Regions from separate parts of the Homo sapiens genome. Here regions 1 and 3 are each linked to region 2. The links are contacts of gene promoters, found by promoter capture Hi-C in blood cells and fetal thymus (Javierre and others, 2016). All regions are on one chromosome and are shown on one strand. The core of a region is centred on a gene start or on the middle of the fragment in contact, and the rest is flanking DNA. Distances in the headings are between cores, read along the strand shown.

Region 1 (4,096 bases), core at 1,316-3,815, 190 kb after region 2:
ACCTTGTGATCTGCCCACCTCGGCCTCCCAAAGTGCTGGGATTACAAGCGTGAGCCACCGCGCCTGGCCAGATGTTCTGTTTTTCTTGTTTCTTGTCTGTTTCCTTCCTTTTTCATATTTTTATGTATATATATAAAACAGTATTATAGTGTGGTATTCTGTTTTTTCCACTCAATTTTATATTGTACACATTTCCCTTATTTTTAAATAGTTTAATATATCATAAATTACTCATTTTGGTTGGATATTGTTTTCTTTCTGTTGTATAATATTATAATGGTTATTTTTTATTTATACAGCGTTTTTATCCTCTCTCATGTGTTTATAGAACAAACTGCCAAGAGGAGTCTTAAGAGTACATGAATGATTTTGTGGCTCTTGAAATATTTTCCCACATTTTAATCCAAAAATGCCATGCTTTTTAATGCTGTTAAACAGGAATTTACTTTCACCCATAAAACATTGTCTAGGAACAAAAGTGAAAAAGACAGGATCCCTGCTCTCCAGGGATGGAGTATAACGGAGAGGATACATACAGATGAATGACTAAGAGAAAGGCTGCAATATTCTGAGTGTGAAGGAAGAACTGGGATAGTTGGACAGTAGCAGTGTGGAAAATACTTCTTAGAGGAGATTGAATATGAAAATGCGGTTTTAATTTGAAATAATTATTGATCCTACTTTTTCTTTCTTGCATATTATGTTTGTCATTTCTGAAACATATTTTTTTGCTTTGCAACAAAATGACTTAACTCCTGCCAACTGCATGATATGGTAGAAAGAGCACACAGGTTTGGACAAATTGCATAATTGTCTAAACTTCAGTTTCTGCACATATAAAACATAAATGATACTTCCTTTAGAGACTTTTGAGGATTATAGAAAGTGTTTTTTATCTATTGTCTCCAGGCTTATTTCAAAAAATATTTGAAATGAAAGAGTTAATATACTAATAAAGTATTTAGCACAGTATATGGCACATAAGTTAGACTTAGTAAGTAGGAGCCACTGTTGGTTTTATGATTGCCAGTGTTAAGCATTCTGCTTCTTACAAAGCGTCAGCTTTCCTATAAATACTGCTCAGTTTTCTAGAAGCTGGAACTGCCACCTCCTAAACGATCAGAATTCACTTCCTCAACCTCCAGAGTAACCCAGCTCTTGAGTCTTTATAGTAACCAAAAGGCTAGCTTCTTTCTTTCCTTTCCTTTCTTTAGCCCCTGCTAGTTGCCAGATACCACGTTAGATGTAGGGAATAGGAAGATAACTGAGATAATATCCTACAACTGTCTATCTAGAGAAATAGAGTCATATGCAGGTGACTGTGCACATGTCAGAGAAATCAGTGGTTCTCAACCCTGGCTGCTCATTAGCATCACCTGGGGAAGCTGTTTAAAAATACCAGTGCTGATGCCGTACTTTAGATAATTTAGAAATTAATGCAAACAGAAACAATATTCTGTAGGAACCTGTACTCATTGATAGGTTGAGTGAGTCATTTTGATTGGAAAGAGAACTGGAAAAATCTTCACAATCAGAGTAACATTCAAACCAACGACAAAACTTAGTCTGTATTGTTAGGAGGACAACAAGCCAGGGCACAAAAGCTTGAAAACTGGTAGCAGATTGGAGAAGGAAATGGTAGATTCTAAGGCTAGACTAACAAAGCAGCTAATAAGAAAGAAAGAAAGAAACTTTACCTCTTTTAAGGAGTTTAGACTTCGTTATGTAGAAAATGAGGTAGACTTTATGAGAGAATGATATGATGCAATCTCCGATTTGGAAAAAACAGCCGCTAGTTTATAACATTGTCAAAAGTAAATTCCAGATGGAATTAAAGTTATGGAAAAAATAGAGAATAATATTTCTATATTTTGGGGTTGGAGAAGACCTTTATAAACATGTTATCAACTCCAAAGCCATAAAGGAAAACACTGAGATTAACAGATTTTACCAAGTAAATATTTAAAACTCTGCAACAAAAGGTACCCTAAAGTTGAAAGTCTGGAGAAAAACTAGGGGAAAGTATTTGCTACCTCAATGACAGAAGGTTAAAAAGTACTTAATATATAATGAGCTCTTACAAATCAGTTAAGAATAGGCAAAAGATTTGAGCAGGTAGCTTTCCAAAGAAGAAATGCAAATGGTTGCTAAAGCACATAAAAGGATGCTCATCTTCAGTGATAATCAGGATTGTAAAGTCAAACAAGAGTGGGGTCTTCTAAACTTTCATGTTGATACAGATTTTTAAAAGTGAATAATATCTAATGTTGTCAAAAATGTGGAGAAACAGGCAGGCTGATAACGTTGGTGGGAGATAAGTTGGTGTAACCTTTCTAGAGAGTAGATTAATGGTTATCTATCAAAACTTAAATTGTGGTTGCCCTTGGACCCAGTGGCCACAACTAAGAATTATCCCTGGAGAAATACAATGTTGTAACATTGTTGGTAATGCCAAGCAGTGTAAATGTGTACATATTTCATAGGCATTAAACTTTTTTGTAGGAATATATACCAGACTGAAGAAACTGGTGGAGGGAGGGGCACTTCATATACTACTGTAATGTTTTTTTTAGAACTTCCATATAATTGTGTGTGTGTGTGTGTGTGTGTATCTATCTATCTATCTATCTATCTATCTATCTATCTATCTATCTATCTATGCCAAATCTATCTATCTGTGCCAAAGGCTAGAAGTCCTGTTCTGGATGAATTAGATGAGGAAGAAGTTGGAGGCAGGAAAACCAGTTAAAGAATTTTTTACCTTGTTCAAGTGTGAGAAATGTTTGGGTCTGAATTGGAACTGTGACAATCAGAATGAGGAAGAGGGAAGATTTGAAAGATAGAGAATCTATAAACTTGTACTATGTGGGTGAGAAGAATGAGGAAAGACTGTCAAAGATGGTTCTGAAGTCGGTAAGTTATATTGCTGAGTAAATGACCATGACATTATAAAAAATAGGAAAAACAAGAAAAGAAGCATCTTTGGAGTAGAAGATAATGAGTATCTTAAATATAGATCCTCAATAAGTATTTGAACAATAAATTAGTTTGGGTCAGTTAGCTCATCTTTAGCATGTACAATTTATGCTTTCTTATTAAGGCTGGTCTTCTGTAGTTATTCTGCTGCTTGTTAGGAGATGTCATTAACATTTCAAAATATGTAAAAAGCAATTTCTAAATATAATTTTTAAACTATTTGTTCTTGTTTTATATTTTCAGAGTGCACATTTGGCCATGATCGATACCCTCATGATGGCTTATACTGTAGAAATGGTCAGTATAGAAAAAGTAATTGCGTGTGCTCAGCAGTATTCAGCTTTTTTTCAAGCCACAGATCTGCCCTATGATATTGAGGACGCTGTCATGTACTGGATAAATAAGGTAGGATTATACTCACTTGAGTAAATCGCATCTCATAGCCAGAAAACGTGAAATTCTAAATTATACATTGCCACTTCATTACTCTTTTTGTTTCAAATCAAAGTGCAAACTTAAGTTGTAAAATACACTTAAATTTTTTAGTAAAAAAGCTTAAAATGATGAAAATAGTTTTCTGTATACTTAGCAATATTTATGATTACTCTTTTTTTTTTTTTTTTTTTGAGAAGTAGTCTCGCTCTGTCACCCAGGCTGGAGTGAAGTGGCATGATCTCGGCTCACTGCAACCTCCGCCCTTCAGGTTCTAGCAATTCTCATGCCTCGGCCTCCCAAGTAGCTGGGATTACAGGCGTTTGCCACCACACCCGGCTAATTTTTGTGTTTTTAGTGGAGACGAGTTTTCGCCATGTTGGCCAGGCTGGTCTGGAACTCCTGGCCTCACGGTGATCTACCCACCTTGGCCTCCCAAAGTGCTGCAATTACAGGCGTGAGCCACCACGCCTGGCCAATATTTATAATTACTCTTAATGATTAATCTGGTTCATACCAGATTATGAAAAAATTCAGAACACTCCTAATAGTGAACTATACACAGTGGGTGTTCAGTAAATATTTTTTGAATTCATTTCAAGAATGAAATAATTTTCTTACATTTCCAGTTAGGGGATTCTTAGGTTTGCTTGACCAAGTTGCACAAGATCCTATTGATTGTGGATTC
Region 2 (3,885 bases), core at 1,374-3,873:
GTTTCTTTGTATTTCTTATCAGCCATCATTTCAATGACCTGTGGATCTTCATCTAAAGGTACAGAAGAGGCAACAAAAGAGTTTTTAGCATTATTTACAATCCTTACATTTGTTCTACTTTCCTTAGAAACACCATTATTTTCTGTTTCACCTCCCACATTCAGTGTCATTTTGACAGAATCTATTTCAGCTGTTTTCCACTTTTCTGCAGAATCTGTTTTAGCACGACGTTGTAATGTAAGACGTGTTTCTGCTGTTTTTTCAGTTGTGTCTTCCAACTCACTAACAAGCAAAGATGATTCTTTGTTCCTTGTAGTTCTCCTCTGAAGTGCCAATCTACCTACAGGATTAGGGGTAAGGGGCATGTCTGCTGTTTTTCTACTGGCAGAAATAACATAAGTTCTATTTATGTCTCTGACTTTACCTGCAGATCTCAATAATGGATCATCATTTTCACATTCTGACATATCCGACTTCAAATGCAGCTTAAGTCGGCTACTGTGGGTGAGGGCATTCAGTGATGAACTATTTTGGGAAGAAGGAATATCAAGAATATCACCGCTGTTATTTCTATTATGAGTACTGTGTAATGACATTTTGGCAGACAGTTATTTTAAAAAAGAATGTTACTAAGACCCTAAGCTCTTCTTTGGACATTCATTTGATTTCCAGCCATTTCTTATGTATCCATTTCTGAAAGTATCTGCTAAACTAAAAGAAAAAAAAAAGATTTAGATCACACAGACTACAAACAAGCTTTAAAAATATAGAGAGAACATCCCATTGTGTAAGTAAATTCCCAGAGGCATACATTACAATAGATCACAATCTGCAGCTCAGATACTGCTTCCAAGCAACTTCAGGCAAGTCTCTCAGAGAACTTACCATCATTATTCAACAAATATTGACTAAGTTTCCATTAGTGCCAGGCCCTCTGATAGATACTGTAGACTTCAAAGACAAGAATACAATTCCCATTTCTTTAGTCTAGAAGAAATATACTGATAAGCCATATATCAGGCCAAATGTGTCAAGTGACTTAGAAGATGTAAAAAGTGCATGCCAACATAGATTTTCAAGTACTTCCAGTGTGGGGAATGGGAAGGACTAAAGGAAACCCTAGCACCTAAATCAGAGTGTGGAGCAAAGTATTTTTATAAATACCTGCTACACGTATTTTTTTTTTTTGCCAATGTTCCATAAGAAGGTTTATTTTATTTTATTTTTATAAAAATATTTTTTTTGAGATGGAGTCTTGCTCTGTCACCAGGCTGGAGTGCAGTGGCACGACCTTGGCTTGCTGCAACCTCCTCCTCCTGTATTCAAGCAAATCTCCTGCCTTAGCCTCCCAAGTAGCTGGGACTACAGGCGCCCACCACCATGCCCAGCTAATTTTTGTATTTTTAGTAGAGACGGGGTTTCACCATGTTGGCCAGGATGGTCTCGATATCTTGACCTTGTGATCCGCCCGCCTCGGCCTCCCAAAGTGCTGGGATTACAGGCGTGAGCCACCGCGTCCGGCCCATGTATGTTGAATACAGGAATGCCTATAGAGAAGATTGAATTGATTGGTGTCACGAGGCAGATTATTCCCAAGTACCACAGGCAGTAAGTACGATAAGTACTGTAAATTAATTGTGTTGAGAAAAACCATGCAAGATTAGATAAACAGACAACCTGCCCTTTAGCAGTAAGACAACAAATTAGACAGAGGTGTATGTAAATATACAGCAACAATATCTATCAGGTATTAACGTTTTAAAGAAAGGGAACAGCAGTGACAGCTAAGAGACCTGGCTTTTAGTCAGCTTTGTATCCAACTCCTTACAAGGATGTAAACAAGACTTTAAATTTGCATGCCGGGTTCTAACCTGTAAAATGACACTGGTTCAAACTATTGCAAAGATTATTGCTAGCGAGGAACAAATTAATGGAAGTTCATTTTTAAATGAGGCTTTTAAATTTTTACATAAATAACAGTCATTACAAAAAAAATTCGTCAGCTTATAAGCATCTCCCATCAACGTTTCAACTCAAAATACAGAATTTTCCTGTTATGAAATGAATTTAAAGGCAAAAAGAAGATTCTGGAAATTCTCTTGCAACTAAAAACCATTTGCGATTTGCACAAATCAATACGGTTTCTGTTTGAGGAGTTTCGCCATCAGATTTTAAAGAGGACTGGAAGGAATACAAGGAAAATAAGCACAATCCAAACCAAAACATCCGGTGATTCTGTTCTTTCTCTGCTAGTCATTACCAGGGGCTATGACTAAGAATTACCTCTTAATGCCAACCGACTCGGGGAGACTCGGGGAGAAGCCCACGGGCCGAGAGGCCCTGAAGTCCGGCTTCCCGGTCCCAGCAGAGACGCTGCCTTGCGCCCTTCGTTCGGGGACCCCTTCGCCGCCGACCTGGAATGCTGAGGAACTGAATGGGGGACTGGAGCTAAGACCACCCGCCCGCAGAGCAGTGGTCGCCTGTAGGGAAAGCGTCCGCACGCCCTCCCCAGTGCCGAAACTTCGCCCCTCCGCAGGGTCCGGCACCTTGGGGACCCCCTCGACACAGTCCCCACGCCACTCACCACCTCCAGCGCCGGCTCCCCAGAAGGCCGCAATTTGAATGGGCGCCCCGCCTTCTGATTGGCTGCTGGGCGTCGCGTCGGGTGCCGCGCCTTTGCTTCCACCCGCCCCCCGGAAGTGCCGGTGGTTGGGCTCCGGTAGCCGTCTCTGAATGCTGGACTCGCCCCACCCTCATCTCCCAGGCAACGCTCCCTCCCCTCCTCGGGTTCTGCTAAAGCGTGGAGCTTGGCCCCCTTTAAATCCGACCAGAGGAAGGGGCGGCGGTCGCGGGCGCAGCGGGCCCCTCGTTGAAGTGGGTGTCAAACGAAAAGCATGACAGTGACACTCTTGTCGGTCTTTAATCTAAAAGAAGCCATTACATCGAAGACTTCACATTGTAAATGGATATTTGCCCCCAAGTTAATCATAATAATTAACTTTTCTAGTGTTTCCTATGCAAGGCGTTCACGTAGGAAATATGCTAAATGTCTTATATGAATTTTTAAACAGTCCTGAAAATCTTGTGAGATAAATATTAATGTTATCCCTCGTTTACAGATGAGGAACTGAGGTTTAGAGTTAAACTTGTGAAAGATCAGACAATTAGCAGTGGCATAACTAGAACTTGAAGGTTCTTGCCGCCGTACAATGTAACTCCGTTTCAGTAAAAGTTCCCTTTTTTTAATTTTTTTTTTCTTTTTTGAGACGGAGTCTCGCTCTGCAGCCCAGGCTGGAGTGCAGTGGCCCCTGCAACCTCCGCCTCCCTGGTTCAAGCGATTCTCCTGCCTCAGCCTCTGGAGTAGCTGGGATTACAGGCGCGCACCACCACGCCCAGCTAATTTTTGTATTTTTAGTAGAGACGGGGTTTCACCATATTGGCCAGGCTGGTCTCGAATTCCTGACCTTGTAAGCTGCCAGGCGTGAGCCACTGCGCCGCCCAGCCCCCATAAGATTTTGAAATCTGAAAAAATATTACAAATACATTCTGAAAAATAACCAAATAAATGAGAAAGACTAGATAAATAGATATTGTAAAGCAACAATGTTTTTTAAACAGGCAAAAAGTACAGAGATATTGAAGAAGTATTCACTGAGATAGAGACCATAAGTAGCTCCAATTATATAGACCAACCAAACAGATGATAAAGTACTCATTCTAAATCTTACTCTAAAAATCATTCTAAAACTCAATTAAAATTAAGGTATAAGGAAACTATCAGAAAATAGAATATAATATTTATCAGGGCCAGGTGCGGTGGCTCACGCCTGTAATCTTAGCACTTTGGGAGACCAAGGCAGGCGGATCACTTGCAGTCAGGAGTTT
Region 3 (4,040 bases), core at 1,253-3,752, 210 kb after region 2:
GTTATAATCAGTTTTTGTCCTTATGTATTTACTTTTAAAATTATTACAGAATTATTTTAGATTTACAGGAAAGTTTCAAAGATAGTACAACTTCACCCAGTTTTCTCTAATGTTAACATCTTACGTAATTGGAGCCCATTTGTGAACAGTAAGAAAGTAACATTGGTACATTATTATTGAGTACACTACAGACTTTATTTAGATTCTACTGGTTTTCCACTGATGTCCTTTTTAAATATTTGTCAGGTGTTTTGTAGTGTTCTTCAATTTGGGTTTGTCTGATATTTCTCATGGTTAGACTGGAGTTACAGGTTTTTTGAGAAGACTACCAGAGAGGTCATATATCATATCATATATTGTATCACGGGGTACATGATAAGAACATGATTTAACACTAGTGATATTAACCATGATCCCTTGGTTAAGGTAGTGTTTGTCAGGTTTCTCCATTATAAATTTACTGGTTTTCCCTTCTTATTTTTGGAAGTGGGTCACCACCTCCATCCTGCACTCCAAAGGAGGGAAATTAAGCTCACTCCCTGAAAGGGAGAATACTTGCATATACTATTGGGGATTCTTCTGTAAGGAAGATTTGTGTCTTCTTCCCCATTTATTTTTTATATTCAATCATTTATTTATATCAGTATGGACTCATGTATACTTAATATTTTATGCTTTGAGTTACAATCTAATACTGCGTTGTTTATTTTGTTGCTCAAAATTTTACAGCATCAGCCACTGAGAGCTTTTTGGGGTTGGCTTTGGTATCTCTTGGATATGCCCCAATCCTTTTGTTTTTTGAGCACTTCCTTACTTTCTGGCACTACAGAATGCTCCAGGCTCATCTTGTTCTTTCCTTGACCTAAAATTAGCTATTTCTTTATTTTGATGCTCAAATGGTCTTAGATTTGGCCAACGGGAGTCCCTTCAGACTGACTCCTGTGCTTTTGATATGCCCCCATTCATCCATCTCTTTTTTTTTTTTTTGCCCCTCCTTATTTAATTTCTAGCTCAACAAGATGTTTCAGATTCATTTTGTAGTTTCCTTGCCATAATCCTAAAATCAGCCATTTCTTCAGTAAGTCTTAATTCTTTTTTATGGAAAACAGTATTTAGCAACTGTAAAATCTGGGCACTAAGTGGCTCATTGCTACAGGAATATCATTACTTCTAGGCCCTATTTCAGTAGACAGAGTTCAGAAATAAAATTTTAAAAATACACAAACATGAGTTCATATATAAACCTCCAATTCCAATCAAACTCCACAGAGTTCTTCCTGGCTTCCCCTATTCCATGCAGGACTTCCCCTTCCACAGTGAGAACTCAGGCTTCCAACAGCATTAATATATTTTACTTATTTGCTCAGTCCTACAATACATATACAGTAGTTTCAGAATTGCTATACTCATACCAATATGAAAAATAAACCTACTGGCCGGGCATGGTGGCTCAAGCCTATAATCCCCGCACTTTGGGAGGCCGAGGCGGGTGGATCACTTGAGGTCAGAAGTTTGAGACCAGCCTGGCCAACATGGTGAAACCCCGTCTCTACCAAAAATACAAAAATTAGCCAGGTGTGTTGGCATGCGCCCGTAATCCCAGCTACTTGGGAGGCTGAGGCAGGAGAATTGCTTGAGCCCGGGAGGCGGAGGTTGCAGTGAGCCGAGATCGTGCCAGTGTACTCCAGCCTAGGTGACAGAGTGAGACTCTGTCTCAAATAAATAAATAAATAAATAAATTTAAAAACCTACTAAGAAGAATTTAAGATTTGTTTGCAATTTTTTTTTAGACTAATAGTATATAGTCAAAGTACAGTGTTCTTAAGTTGTTTCCCTCTGCCCCCGCCTTCACTGTGGTTATATTATTCCTTTGAAATACATTTGTGTTAATTGGTTTCTGTATTCTTTCCATTTTAGCGATCTTTTTTGACACCATCCTTGTTAACTTTTGTTTTTTGAATATGTAGAACATTGACATAATTCCAAAAATCAGAACTATATAAATGGTATACTCAGAGAAGTATCAATCCCTCCCCTATCTCTTCTACCCCTTACTTATTCCACATGTACTCCCTCCCAGCCCTTCTAAATGGACCAAGCACGTATGTGCATGTTTGTTTCTCCTCCTTTCTAGCACAAAACATAACATATTTATTCTTTTGCAGTTTGCTCTTTTCAGTAACTGTATATCCTGGAAATTACTCCATACGGTCCCTAGAGATCATTCTTTCTTTCTTTCTTTCTTCCTTTTTTTTTTTTTTTGAGACAGAGTCTTGCTCTGCCACCCAGGCTGGAGTGCAATGGTGCGATCTCGGCTCACTGCAACCTCTGCCTCCCAGGTTCAAGCGATTCTTCTGCCTCAGCCTCCCAAGTAACTGGTACTACAGGCGAGCGCCACCACACCTGGCTAATCTTTGCATTTTTTAGTAGACACGGGGTTTCGCCATGTTGGCCAGGCTGGTCTCGACCTCCTGACCTCGTGATCTACCCGCCTTGGCCTCCCAAAGTGCTGGGATTACAGGTGTGAGCTACTGTGCCCGGCCAATCATTATTTCTTAAAGCAGCATAGTGCTGCCTTGTGAATATGTGCCATAGTTTCTTCAACTATGTACCTATGTGTAGGCATTTAAGTAGTTTCCAGTATCTTGCTATTGCAAATTGTGCTGCACAGAATACTGTTATATGTGGCCTTTTGTATTTTGGATATGTATTTTCAAGGTAAATTTCCTAGAAGTTGGACTGCTAGATTGAAGGGTAAATGCATACTGTATGTAGTTTTGTTAAATGTTGACGAAATCCCCTCCAAAAGAGCTTGTACCATTTTATATTCCATCAGCGATTCGGCATAACTTTTGGATCTGCAACAGCTAGGAGATTAAGTCTAATGGCTGGGCGTGGTGGCTCACACTTGTAATCCCAGCACTTTGGGAGGCCTAGGTGGGAGGTTCACTTGAGGTCAGGAGCTCAAGACCAGCCTGGCCAACATGGTGAAACCCCGTCTCTACCAAAAAATACAAAAATTAGCCAAGCATGGTGGTGCATGCCTGTTGTCCCAGCTACTAGGGAGGCTGAGGTGGGAGAATTGCTTGAACCTGGGAGGCAGAGGTTGCAGTGAGCTGAGATAGCTCCGCTGCCCTCTACCCTGGGTGACAGAGGGAGACTGTCTCAAAAAAAAAAAAAAAGATTAAATCTAACAAGTTAACAAGTCATGCAGTAACAAGTCACAGCCATGATTAACTCCCTGAAGGACCCCAACTCTTTGAGGTCTCCAATAAAGACCACACCAAACCAATATCCTCCTGGAACGGCCTGAGAGCACCTAGAAGTAGTTCAGGAATTATCCTACCTTGCCAGAATGTTGTAGATACCCAGAGGAAGAGTATTATTTGGAGAGTATTAATGGCAAGTCCTAAAACAACTAGCCAAAATTCAGGGTGAGCCAAACATGTATTATAAAGACAATTGAAAGGAATATTTGAAATTAGAACTATTCCAGAAAATCTGGACTGCCTAGGTTGGCCCCTTTGTCGGTAGAAACTTAATAAAAGTTTTTTCACCTGTTATCCATGGGTTTTAAAAAACCCTTTGTTTCTTGCCTGGTGGTCCTGATAAAAAGAAAAAAAAAATCAAAAAACCTTTGTCCTCGTGGTTATTTACATCTTAAAACAGGATTTGATGTTGCAGTTTGCCTAATTCTTCCCTGAAAACCAAAAGGATAGTTGCTGATCACTTCAGAAATGGCGTTATTCTTCAGCAAGGAACTTATGCTATGTATTTGAGCTTTTTGAAGCATACGTATATAAGTATGCATAGTATATTTATTTGTTCTTTTAGTACATTTACTCTTTAGTTAAATTTCCTTCACACAGCCAATCTGTGGGTTTCCTTTTTCCGCCAAGAAGATTGCTGTTACCAGTTTAGATCAATGGAGGGCCAAGAGAAAGGCCAGAGCAGTCTGAATTAGTAACAAAATCCAATTATTGCATATTTTACAAGAAATATGGAATAACTTTAACCGTTAAGAGACTTCTTTGTACACC

The links. The method cuts DNA at HindIII sites, captures the fragments that hold promoters and counts their contacts. A CHiCAGO score of 5 or more calls a contact.
Region 1: a contact is called between a fragment that was not itself captured here and the fragment with the promoter of KIF14 in region 2, in 17 of 17 cell types (naive CD4 T cells, total CD4 T cells, activated CD4 T cells and 14 more). The highest score is 22.2, in naive CD4 T cells.
Region 3: a fragment that was not itself captured here is called in contact with the fragment with the promoter of KIF14 in region 2 in 11 of 17 cell types (M2 macrophages, M0 macrophages, total CD4 T cells and 8 more); the score reaches 13.0 in M2 macrophages.

What each region holds. Positions count from the first base shown.
Region 1 is chr1:200,804,157-200,808,252 of GRCh38, forward strand. It overlaps CAMSAP2 (calmodulin regulated spectrin associated protein family member 2), which reads left to right. Exons shown (of 17, transcript NM_203459.4): 3 at 3,220-3,381. Among named protein-coding and RNA genes, the nearest start is that of GPR25, 67 kb to the right of the region's middle. The HindIII fragment of the contact is 1,926 bases long and covers 1,603-3,528 here.
Region 2 is chr1:200,618,128-200,622,012 of GRCh38, forward strand. It overlaps KIF14 (kinesin family member 14), which reads right to left and starts at 2,624. Exons shown (of 30, transcript NM_014875.3): 1 at 2,284-2,624; 2 at 1-711. The coding sequence starts at 596. RefSeq lists an enhancer at 1,892-2,393 and a silencer at 2,562-2,711. The HindIII fragment of the contact is 3,652 bases long and covers 755-3,885 here.
Region 3 is chr1:200,823,263-200,827,302 of GRCh38, forward strand. The region is part of intron 4 of CAMSAP2 (calmodulin regulated spectrin associated protein family member 2); the gene reads left to right. Among named protein-coding and RNA genes, the nearest start is that of GPR25, 48 kb to the right of the region's middle. The HindIII fragment of the contact is 5,432 bases long and covers 1-4,040 here.